3 separate regions of the Homo sapiens genome follow, and all the other regions are linked to region 3. Evidence: promoter capture Hi-C in 16 types of primary human blood cells and fetal thymus (Javierre and others, 2016). All regions are on one chromosome and are shown on one strand. The core of a region is centred on a gene start or on the middle of the fragment in contact, and the rest is flanking DNA. Distances in the headings are between cores, read along the strand shown.

The links. Contacts are between HindIII fragments. The CHiCAGO score rates a contact against its expected background, and 5 or more counts as called.
Region 1: a fragment that was not itself captured here is called in contact with the fragment with the promoter of VWA3B in region 3 in 1 of 17 cell types (monocytes); the score reaches 5.9 in monocytes.
Region 2: a fragment that was not itself captured here is called in contact with the fragment with the promoter of VWA3B in region 3 in 3 of 17 cell types (total B cells, naive B cells and monocytes); the score reaches 12.0 in total B cells.

What each region holds. Positions count from the first base shown.
Region 1 is chr2:97,945,357-97,949,468 of GRCh38, forward strand. The region is part of intron 1 of TMEM131 (transmembrane protein 131); the gene reads right to left. Among named protein-coding and RNA genes, the nearest start is that of TMEM131, 49 kb to the right of the region's middle. The HindIII fragment of the contact is 3,474 bases long and covers 249-3,722 here.
Region 2 is chr2:97,927,876-97,931,812 of GRCh38, forward strand. All of the region lies in intron 1 of TMEM131 (transmembrane protein 131), which reads right to left. Among named protein-coding and RNA genes, the nearest start is that of TMEM131, 66 kb to the right of the region's middle. The HindIII fragment of the contact is 190 bases long and covers 2,326-2,515 here.
Region 3 is chr2:98,084,539-98,088,940 of GRCh38, forward strand. VWA3B (von Willebrand factor A domain containing 3B) reads left to right here and starts at 2,629. Exons shown (of 28, transcript NM_144992.5): 1 at 2,629-2,825. RefSeq lists enhancers at 2,357-2,857, 2,754-2,823, 2,858-3,358. The HindIII fragment of the contact is 2,164 bases long and covers 1,432-3,595 here.

The sequences.
Region 1 (4,112 bases), core at 736-3,235, 140 kb before region 3:
TTTTGGAATGAGACAGTTGTGATGGTTGTACAAGTCTATGAGTATACTTCAAAAACCCACTGAATTATACACTTTAAAAGGTGAAGTATGATATGAGAAATTGTATCTCAATATTTTAAAAGTCAACAACAGCAAAAAGCATGCTTTTGTGTTCTATTCCCTAAATCTTTTCTAAAATGTTTATCTAAATGGTATTTTAAATATTGTGTAACCAGAGGACAAAATGTAATCTCTGCTCAAGAGCTTTAAGCTTATAGTTCTTTCATGGATACAAATTCATTCATTAGATTGTGCACGGGGAGGAGAAAACAGCAAATGATAAAGCAAATGGGTCAAACTGTCAACAGCAGGTGAATCTGGGTAAAGAATATGAATGTTTTTGACTATTTTCATTCTTAAAAATTTTCTGAAAGTTTGAATATATGCCAAAAATTTGAAAAAAGAAAACCACTACTGTAAGACTTCTAAAAATCTCAACGTTTGAACACATTCACTCTTTTAAAAAGATATACATCAAGCAATTGTAAATTCACTTAAATTATGCTAAGTTGGAAATACTGATTACAGAGGAGGTTGGTATCCTTACTGTAGCCACAGATTAAATGTGCCAAGAACATGCTGCTGACATGTCTGTGACTACAGTGGTATTATAGCCATCTTAAAACACTCAGTGGTATTACAACCATCTTAAAACACTCAGTTAAAATGATGCTTATGCCAACACAGCTATTGTGCAGGGATTTTATCTTGCATTACATCTTGTAATATAATATTTATGATTGGAAATATGGTATATCCATACAGTTATCTATATTGCATACTCATATATAATCTATAAGATCACATTCTAAATATTAGATAAGTAATCCATATCTTGTTTTTTAATAAAAAAAGAAAAGAAATAATAAAGAATATAAATCAATAAAGTAGAAAGCAGAAAATAGAGAAAAATCGAAGGAAACAAAAGTTTTCTGTTTGGGAAGATTAACAAAATTGATAAACATCTAGCTAGTCAGTTTGAAAAAAGAGAAGCCAGGTATTGTGAACATAAGAAATGAGAGACTGAATACGACTATACTTTCTATAAACATTAGAAGACTAATCAGCAAATATAATTAACAACTCTCAGTTTATGATACGGACAAATTCCTTCAAAGACTCAAAATACCAAAGGTCACTCACAAAAAACTAGCTAACTTGAATAGGCTTATATGTACTTAAGAAACTTATTTTGTAGTTAAAATCTTCTCACAAAGATAACTCCAGGATTAGATGTATTTAACGATGAGTTCTCCCAAATATTTAAGGGGAAAAAAAAAATCATACGCAAACTCTCCCAGAAACAGGAGAAACTCTCCAAACTCATTTTACAAAGCCAGCATCACTCTGATCCCCAAAACAAATAAGGGTATTAAAACAAAAAAACTACAGACCAATTTCACATCTTATTACAGATGCAAAAATTCTTGTCAAAATTTCAGCAAATGTAATCCATTAATGTATAAAAAAGATAAAAACATCATGACCAAGTGGGATTTATCCCAGGAATGAAATACTGTTTAAATATTCAAAAAAAAAACTTCAACATATAAGACTTAAAAAACAAAATTAATCATTTCAAAAAACAGACAAAAAACATTGGACAAAATTCATCATCCATTCATGGTAAAAGATCTTGGCAAAATGGGCACAAAAAGAACTTCCTTAAGCTGATAAAAGACATGTACAAAAGATATACAGCTATCATCATACTTAATGGTGAAAGACTAAATACTTTCCATTTAAGATTAGAACAAGGTAAGATTGTTCCTTCTCACCACTCCTATTTAACATCATAGTGAAAGAATAAATGAAGGTAAGAGGGCAATCTTCGTGCCAATAAAACGCAAAGAAAAAAAAAGTATGTAGACTGGAAAAGAGAAAATAAAACTGTCTTTAGACACAGACATGATATCTCCTATAACACCTATAAAAATTCTACTAGAATTTTTTTGATTCTGGTACAATTTTTACAGGTGATACAGGATATAGGAAAGTAGTAAGATTAGGAAAGTAGGAAAATGCAAGGCCAACATATAAAAATCAATCATATTTCTAATAACAGCAAGGAACAACTGGAAAATAAAAATCAAAACCATTTACAATTGCATCAAAATACTAAGATAAATATTTGACAAAATACAGCTGGAAGAAATTAAAGAACACCTAAATAAAAAGAAAGATATACCATGTTCATGCATCAAAAGAACCAATATTGTTACAGCAATTTTCCCCAAATTGATCTAGACAGTCAATACAATTCCAATCAAGTTTTTTGTTGTAAAAATTTACAAGATGATTCTAAAAGTTATACAGAAAAGCAAAGGACCCAAAATAGTAAAAAGAATTTTGAAAAAGAAGAACAAGATTGGAGGACTCAACATTGCCTGATTTAAGACTTAAAATCATAGTAATCAAGATGGTATAAAACTGACACAGATAACAGATGTGTGAAATAGAACAGAGACTCCAAAAGTAGACCCCCACATATATGGTCAACTGATTGCAACAGGGTGCCAAGGCAATTCAATTGGGGAAAAGTAATCTTTTCAATAAGTCATGCTGGTACAAATGAATAGCCACATGGGAAAGAAAAACAAAAGAGAATCTGGATGCTCCAAAATTTACAAAAATCAACTTGAAATGAATAACAGAATTTATGTAAGAGCTAAAATTCTAAAGTTCCTAGAAATCAACACGGGAAAATTTTAGTGATCTTGAGTTTGGCAAAGATATTCTTAAGTAGGATACAAAAAAGAAAAAAATCTTGAACTATAAAAGAAAAAAAGATGAATTGAGAGGTGGATTAAAAATTTTTTTTTTAGCTTTTACTCCTCAAAAGACACTGTTACAAAAGTAAAAATACAAGCCACAGACTGGAAATAATATTTGCAAAATGCTTATCTGACAAAGGACTTGTATCCAGAATATGTAAATAACTGTTACAACTAAATAAGAAAACAAACAGCTCAATTTAAAAAAATGCAAAAAAGATGTGAACAGACATTTAAGCAAAGACAACATGAATAGCACATGAAATAAGAGGGCACATGAAAAGATGCTCAAAATCCTTAGTCATTAGGAAAATAAAAATTAAAACACCAGGAGACACCACTACATAACCAATAAAATGATTAAGATGAAAACTTCTTACCATATCAGGTGTTGGCAAGGATGTGCAGGAAGTGGAACTGTAATACCCTGCTAACGGGAATATAAAATGGTGCAACCACTTTGGATAACATGTCAGTAGTTTCTTTTTTTTTTATTTATTTTTTTTGAGACGGAGCCTCGCGCTGTCGCCCAGGCTGGAGTGCAGTGGTGTGATCTCGGCTCACTGCAAGCTCCGCCTTCCAGGTCCAAGCCATTCTCCTGCCTCAGCCTCCTAAGTAGCTGGGACTACAGGCACCCGCCACCACGCCCGGCTAATTTTTTGTATTTTTAGTAGAGATGGGGTTTCACCATGTTAGCCAGGATGGTCTCGATCTCCTGACCTCGTGATCTGCCCGTCTCGGCCTCCCAAAGTGCTGGGATTACAGGCGTGAGCCACCGTGCCAGGCCAGTAGTTTCTGAAAAAGTTGAACACATAACCCACCAGACATTCCATTTCTAGGTATTTGCCCAACTGAAATGAAACGTATGTGTGAATGAAAATGAAAGACTTGTACATGAATATTTAGGGAAGCTTTATTTGTAATAGTTCAAAAGAGGAAACAACTCACATTCCCATCAACGGGTGGGTGGATAAACAAATTGTGATACAGCAACACAGTGGAATACTATGCAGTACTAAAACAGTCAAACATGCAACATTACAGACAAATCTAAAAATAATCATGCTGAGTGAAAGAAGGGAGACAACAGAAGAGTAAATACTGTATGATTCTGCTTATACAAAGTTGTATAATATGCAAACTAATCTAAGTGACAGAAAGCAGAAGAACTGTCGCCTGGGATTAGGAAGGGAGGTAAGAAAATTCTACAAAGGGTCACAAGGAAATAGAGAGTGCACACGTTCACACAATCTTCACTATGGTAATAGTTTCACATGGGCCATAACTCAAACTGTACAC
Region 2 (3,937 bases), core at 1,171-3,670, 160 kb before region 3:
GCTGAAATTCGGTATCATCTGCTTTTTTGTAGTGATGATATGACCTGGGATCCACAGTCAAAGGGATTTGGTGAGGAAGTGGGCAGGGAAAATAGCAAAAGATTATTCTGATCCAAGAAACAGCAATGCAAAGGTAATATATTTAAAAGCTAACATAGTTATACCATACAATCTGGCGATCGTGCTTCTGGTATTGACTGAACTGATTTGAAACCTTACATACAAAAATCTACATACAATTCCTTAAAGCAGCTTTATTCATAATCACCAAAATCTGGGCATAGTCAAGATGGCCATCAAAGGTGAACAGACAAACTGTGGTATATCTATACAATGGAATATTACTAAAAGAAAAGGCTACATACTGTATGCTTCCAAGTACATGACATTCTGGAAAAGGGACAATTATGGAGATAGTAAAAAGATCAGTGGTTGCTAGGAGATCAGGGGGAGATGGGAAAGGTTGAATAAGTGAAGCACAAATATATTTTAGGGTGGTAAAACCATTCTTTATCAAATTGTAATGGTGGATACAGGACATGATGCATTTGTCAAAACAGAACTTCACAGCACAAAAAGTGAATCTAAATGTATGCAAATTTTAAAAATTTATTTAGAAGACTGGGAGACTCCAGGATGGAATGCATAAAATGACAAAACAATTTAACTGTATTACAAATGAATGAATCAACCTTACTGAAGTGGGGGGAGAGGGGAGAGTGCTCACCTAAGTAATTCTGGAAATGAATAGAATCTGTAAGACTAAAGGCAAAAGAAACCATACACACGCAATGTATTCTAGTTAATAATGCTTTTTCCCATGGGAGTTTGGGTTAACCATTCTGATGCCACTATACATGTACACTGAAATCGAACAATTAAGTACACAGATGGTGGATACTGGGAGCCAGGTGTCTCACTGTTGGAAGAGCAATTTATACAGAAACAAGGCGGGGGAGGCCAAAATGATCCAGGTGGTAATGGTTAAGAGTCAGTGATATCAGTAAGAATTCATGTTTAGTGAAACATATACATTATTACATACATATAAGAATATTTATAGATGTGTATATTCATAGGTTAGTATACATACATGTATTTCCTTGCTCTGTCAGCTCTAAGAGCCTAAAGCAATGACATGCCAATAGCAAAGAACACACCTGGAACTCAGATCTTGTGTTCTAATATTATTTTCCAATAAAAGAAACCAGGGCTTCCTGGAGCAATGGCCGATTTGAGGACAGGGGCAGGAAATACACGAGATGAGAATGGAGCATCCTATAGTGCCGGAAAGTAAAAAATAGAGAAAACCACCCAAATCCTACACTGATGGGGATAGAGAAAGGAAGGTAAGAATCAACAGAAAGAGCTCCCAAATGACCAAAGCTGAAACAATCTGAGCAACAAAATGAAGAAGTACTAGATGTAGCCCAAAGTATAAAATAAATATCCATAAACCCATATTGCTATAAATTGCTGAATAAATGGGAGAAAAGGGACAACTTTCACATGCAGAATTTCAACTATGTGATATTTCATTTGGCTTAATATGGAATTCACTGACTCCCATTTGTTGGTCTTTTGGAAATCAGGGAAGACACTCACTGTCCCACATATGTACCTGGCTGTTCCGGTATGACAAAAGTGGACAGTCAAGCAGCAGAATAAGATACTAGTTAATTAGATTACATTACCTCGTTGGATGTTTTTTCTGCCTGCCAAGCATCCTTTTCTCCTTAGTCTAGCAGTCACATCCTGATTTTATTTTGGGAAAACTCCTGTCCTCCATTTCCTGTGTTTCTCTTCAATGACAGTGCCAACCTGCTCCACTTCTATTCATCCCCTAACCAGTCTGTGGCATATAGAGAATATTCAATAAATACTGAAAGCATGAATGATGTCCCACCTTTTTGCTCAGGTACAATAAGCACTGGCATTTGTACTTACTGATGCAAATGACCTTTTTCTGGTTATGTTATCTCTAGTCCTGGCTTATAGTGGAATTTCAATATCAAGATCAGAGCTAATGGCTCCAACAGAATTACTGACACAGTATACTTAGAATGTCTCTAAGTAAAGTGATAAACTCATTACAATAAAGGACTATGAATATAAAAGGCTCTGCTCAGCTCACCCATCCCATTCCTCACCTGTTCCCCCCACTTTTTAACACAAACTGAAATTTCACAGGATCCAGAGAATTTTTTGGTTATTCCCTACTGAAGACAAATTTATTAACATAAGAACACAATGAACTAACAAGAAATAACTGAACAGCCAGATGTTCACAATGTAAAAGACATAAAGTCAAGGCCTCTAATTAGAAGCTTTATGTCTAATTGGCAGAGGAAACCAACAAGAAACAACTGGAAACGAGCTATAGGTGGCTGCTATTAAGAGTTCCAATAGAACGACCACTGAATGAGTTCCCACCATTGAGCCAGAAGAAATGCTGATCTAACTGAAGAGAACTACATAAAGGCAGTAGTTTGGGTATACTGCTTTTTAAATCAGAAGCTTTAAAAATATATAAAAATTCTATTATGAATTATGAATTCATATTTTAAAAAGTATGAGTTATGTTAAAAATATGAATGTTAGTTAAAAAAATTAATAACAGCAGCTGATTATAAAGTCTCAAAAGGAAAATACTATGTTACACATCACTGGCTTTCCTTAAAAGATGTAGAGATAAATAGGATTCAACTCTGGCATAAAACAAATTAACGTATTTTGCTTTAAACAGCCAATTATAATACCTTTCAATTATATGCCTCAAAAAACAGAACACTAGATACAGACTTAATCATTTCACATGCAGTTATTAAGCTATAAAATATAAAATGTAACAAAAGTCAGTCAAGTTATCACATCTCCAGATTCAAAACCAGAACTAGTAACAGCTTCCTCTCCCAAAAATATTTCCCCTAATTTTATGCTGTTAATGAATCCCAAACTTTCCTGATGTTCCCTAGTTCAAGCATCAAACAACTGTAATTGAAATAAAAATAAACTAATAATTACTGATCACTGTTGTTAATATTCAAACTAACCCTATGACACAGACATTATGATCCATTTTAAGGTAAAGAAATACACACAGAGAGATATACTTAGCAAGAAAGTGGCTAGAGAAAAGTATGAATTCTGGCAATGTGAATCTGTGCTTCTAAACCCATCCCTATTTATTTTCAAAATAAACTTTACAGAATGCTCATGACTAACAGCACCTTTTAGCAACCAAATTTTTTTAATTGGGCATATATTTCTGACAATAAGTGAGGAAAGGAAGATTTACAAAGGAAAGAAAAGGATTTACATTTCTGGCTTTTACGATTCTACTCATATTTACTCTGAAGCTGGGCTCAGTAAGATCTACTTTAAGCTCCTCACACCGACCCACATCTCTAAGCTGTCTGTGAGTAACAAAGCCATTTATAATCAGTGTAAAAATGTCAATGTGTCAGTTGTTTCAAAATAGGAACACTTGCTTTCAAAACAGAAGTTCACAAACTGTTTACTTCCCTATTTCATTTAGTTAAGATTAAAAATATCTTTCACTTTAAAGACAAATCTTTGTCTACTAAGTTTTTGTTTTTCTTTTAGGTGAAGGTATTTTTCTGAATATTACAACTGATGAATAAATATAATTTGCAATTTTAATACATCTAAAATAACTCATGAAAAAAACAAATGCTGTAAATAACTAGTAGAAAAATTTATGCCATATTGTGGGGGGTGGTATCAGGCATTAGGAACCTAGGTTGTCATTGCATATCTTTACCTTCTAGCCTTCACAATCTCCTCACCCACAAAAGGAGAAGGCTGGACTAGTCAAATCAGCGATTTTTAAACTTTCTTCTACAAAAACTAGGAACAGAAGAAAGGGCCACACAGGCAGGCCTCAGGAGGGTCCCCAAAGCTGTGTTACAGAGTC
Region 3 (4,402 bases), core at 1,379-3,878:
ACCCTCATCAAAGATGTTAGATTGAGAGCCAGGAGTCTACATTCATTGTCCCAAATAATGAATGCTGAACTCAAGAACATCACAGCATAGAGAAACCTCTGTTTGAGCTCTACCTCCCCGTGATGGCCCCTGTCCCCACCTACCTCTCCCAAGGCTGCCCCTGATGGCGAAAACTCCCTTCACCACAAGAGCTAACAAAGGTTCAGCAGGAACTGCCTCACTCTCTCAGTTTCTCCTTCCTCTTCAGAGGGAGTGCCTCTGTTTTAATTCCAGCTCAGGTTCTTTCTCACACATATATACAAGGAGTTAACATTCTCCGTCTCCTCTGGTTCCAGTTTTTGCAGTGGGCTTAGGAAAATGCTTTTCCTCCCTTCATTTCCTTTATCACCCTCCCTCCTCCACCAAACATTCTGATCATGGCCATAAGCCCAAGCAGTGGCAGTGATAGACTTGTATAAAGAAAAGGAAAACCCATTGAACCTGAAAAGTAAACAGCACAAAGGTCAAATAACAACGAAAGGCTTGTCAAAGGCTTGTACATGGTTGCCAAGAGTGTGGTACTGGCAAGCAATGCTTTGAGACTGTACAGGTAGAGAGAAGTTATTAGGGCCGCAGCATCCATGGGAGGGCTTTGGGGAGAGAGAGAAGAGCTAGAGCTGACCCTGAAGGGACGGTGATTCCCAAACTGTGGTAATCTGGGTGGCCTGAGTAAAGTCATCTGTGCTCAGAGGCAGGGACCAGGTGGGTCTCTCTGGGATGGGGGTTTGTGTTGGAGGCAATGAGCAAAAGTCTGAAAGTATAATTTGAGCCCTTAATGGTAAAGTCCAGAAGTTTGACATCAAAGATGGCAGTGATTTGATCAATGTCGCTTACTGAGGTTTAAGGAAAGATACAAATTATCTGTAAAAATGTAAACTCAAAACAAATTTGTCAAAAGTTCAGTATAGTAGTGTATCACCACTGTGCTAAAGGTTTTCTTATTTCAAATAACTCAATAAAAATGAGGCAAACCATTCTGTAACTAGCTAAACTGAAGTCCATACCAACTATTTAATGCTTCAAAATAACCTTAAACTTCTACTCACTTATCATTCTACAATTTAAGTAAGTAATGTTTCACATTTTCAACAGAATGTATGCTTATAGACACATAAACACGAAAGATAGGGACAGATCATCTTGGTGACTTGCACGTATGTGGCAAGTGTCCTAGGGAAAGGAGCAGGCATGGGGTGAAGGTGGGAACAAGAGTGCCTGGCGTGACCATGTGAGGCAGGGCATTTGGCTATGTGTTGCTGTGTGCTCTGTCTCACCCCCGTGACCCAAGAATATTAGTGTGGCAGGGTGTGGACAGCAAGGATTAATGGGTCATTGGCAAACATGGGCGAGGCTGGTGTTTTACTCCCTTCTGAACAGTCTTCAGTACTATCAAGCTTTTGCTTGTTTTTTGGTGGTGTGGATGGCAGGTTTCATTTGCAGGGCCAAATATATATAAACTAATAACTGCCAGGAATGATTTGTGATATGGAATGAAATCTTTCAGTACTTTTTAAATGATAGAGGCATTAAAAGAATGCAGGAGAAATAAATTCCTGTGGATGAAGCAGACTTTTTTTGGGGGGACAGAATTACTCAGTTCTAACATTAACTATGTTTTATTAGTTCTTTGAAAAACCTGCAAATGATCTGGTCAGTTCTATAATTTTAAAATCTAAAATCGTTTACTATCCCAATACCCTAAAAACAATACTTACTGTGGGGTCTTTTATTAAGACTTTAAAGATACTTTTCATAAGCACAATTTTATTTCCTGGTGACTGGAAAAATAGGAAAATATTTAGAGCCTTTTGCTTAATTGATAAGGTAACACTGAAACAAAGGTTAAAAACAAAGCTGAATGGAGAAAATAATGCCTATAGAAATATTCATGTCAAACAGGTAAGAATATTCTTGGCAACTGCAGCCCCTGCCTCCACAATTGCAAAATTGCAGCTCCCTGTCCCTTCTGTCTGTCTCAGCTCCGCCCACGTCCAGTGGCTGAGCTACAACGAACTGCCCCACCTCTTTTAAAGCGTCTTTCTCTGAACTGTGCAAGGAAGAGAGCATCGCCTGACAGTGGTGAGGTGAAAATTAAAACTACACAGGGGTCAATGCTCTGCTGAAAAGTATGAAAAGAAGTTCGTTTGTAGCGTTTCCCGCAGTCTCCTCGCCTCTCCTCGGCCTCTGGCGCCTTCCTCCCCTGTCTGCTCGCACCCTATATTTCTACCCCAGCTCATCAGTGTATTTGTTTGTTAATTCATTCATTCTTTCATTCATATTCTCCGCTGTTGTTAATTTTCCCATTGACAGTAGGCGCAAGGGGCAACGCCACTCGCCCTGTCCCTCTAGCGTGGCCTCTGTTTGGGGGTCTGGGGTGGAGGTCGTCCCGGCCCGGGTGGTTCCGGACGCCGGCTTTCCGCACCTGGCTCGGTGACGGCCTCGGCGCCCCGCCCTCTTGGCCACGGTCCGCAGCCATCGCCCCAGTGAGGGCGCGGTCTGTGGGCGGGGCCGGCTCCAGGAGCCGCGCTGTGATTGGCCGTGTCCAGGCAACCGCGGAGACGCCGTCGTCAACAGACCGCGCTCGGAACCAGAGGCGCGGGTCACAGAGACCTAGAACAGCTGGAATCCTTCGCCCCCGGCGCGCAGCCTTCGCCCGCCGGAATCGCTGCCTTATCCACCAGCGGGATGCTTACCTCGCCCGCCCTCTCGGGTCAGGCGGGCCCGGGAGGATGGGAGGGTGGCTGCTGAGCGGGAGCCGCCACGTCTTCCACCCGACATATTGCCTAGTAAGTGTGGGAGCGATGCCTGCCGCACGAGAGCCGCCGAGGTGCCGAGCCTTCCAACAAGCGGCCTAGGGAGGTCTTGGAAAAATGCCATTTCTGAGGTGGACTACACGCCCACTTTACAGATGCGGAAACAGTACCAGGAAAGCTCGGTGACTTGCCCTGGCCCACTTAATCGTCCGCTACCCAGGGCAAGCCGAGGGTCAAGGTACCGACCCCTCCTACTCTAGAGCTCTTTCCATCACACCTCACCCGAGCCCACGCCCAGCCGCTCTGGTGGAAAAGCGGTTTTCCTAGTTTCTGTCTATGCCATAGGCCAGCAGTTCAAGGTGATGAAGTCCACCTGGGCTTTGGAGGGAACATGGGAACCAGAAGAAACACATTTCCTGAACATAAGGATAAATATGTATAGTCTAAAAGCCAAAGCAACACTTACATGGTTTCACAATCATATCAGTTTCTTTCACCCTCCTTATATGGAAATAAGACTTAATAAGTAGATTTAGTTTCCATTTGGTAGAGCTTTTCCTTTCATTTTCTTGGAAGCTCTGTTTCTTCTCAGCAATGACCTTCCTCCTAAAGCACTCCAATTATTCTCAGATATTGCCTTCTTGACTATTTTCTCAACGGTGGGACAGTCCGTTTCAATATCCTTGTCTCTGTCCACATTATTTGAGCCAATGATCACAGCCAAGCCTTGTCCCTTAAGGGCAGAAAAAATGGGAGGAGGTTTAAGGGTTTCTGGGGAAGAGTTGCATCAGGATCCATCATGAAGCTTCGTCCCAGTTTCCTTTCTTCCTGGAAAAATCATCGTTCACAAATTCACCTAAATCACAAGATATATATCCACCTAGCCCAGACTTCTTTTTCAGAAACTAACAGGGGTATAGGAAGTTTGGGGTGTTGATAATAAAGTAGCTAGAAGCTTATTGAATGTCTAAACTGGATTAATGGACTCTCAACCCTGCACTGTCCCTGAACCTCCGAGCACATAGGACCTTTTCTCTGAGGGCATGCTGACTTCACAAGACTGTCGCCCAGGGCAGCCCAGGAGCATCTGCTTCCAGTAGACGGGGCCCTTGTACAGTTGCCAGCTTAACCTTTCTATTTTCCCCAAAGCTTTGCCTGCCCACATTTTCAGCTCAGACTTTCACTTCCTTGTTTTTCCTTTTACACTTCCTCCTTCTTCTAAGGAAATACTTTCCTATCCAAACTCTATGTATGGTTCTTGGGATGGCCTCTAAAACTTAGGGCAATGCTCAACTCCGGTATGTTGTTGTTTCCGACTTCTGGGTTACTTGGTTCCCCAATTTATAATAACCTCAGCTGAGGAAACTCTGAATAATAGTAAATAAATAAATAAATAGCATAGTTTTATCAGAAAATAATATATCCCCCTTTATTTTTTTTTGAGACAGGGTCTCGCTCTGTCCCCCAGGCTGGAGTGCAGTGGTGCAATCTTGGCTTACTGCAACCTCTGCCCCCTGGGTTCAAGCAATTCTCCTGCCTCAGCCTCCCTAGTAGCTGGGATTACACGTGTGTGTTACCATGCCCGGCTAATTTTTGTATTTTTAGTAGAG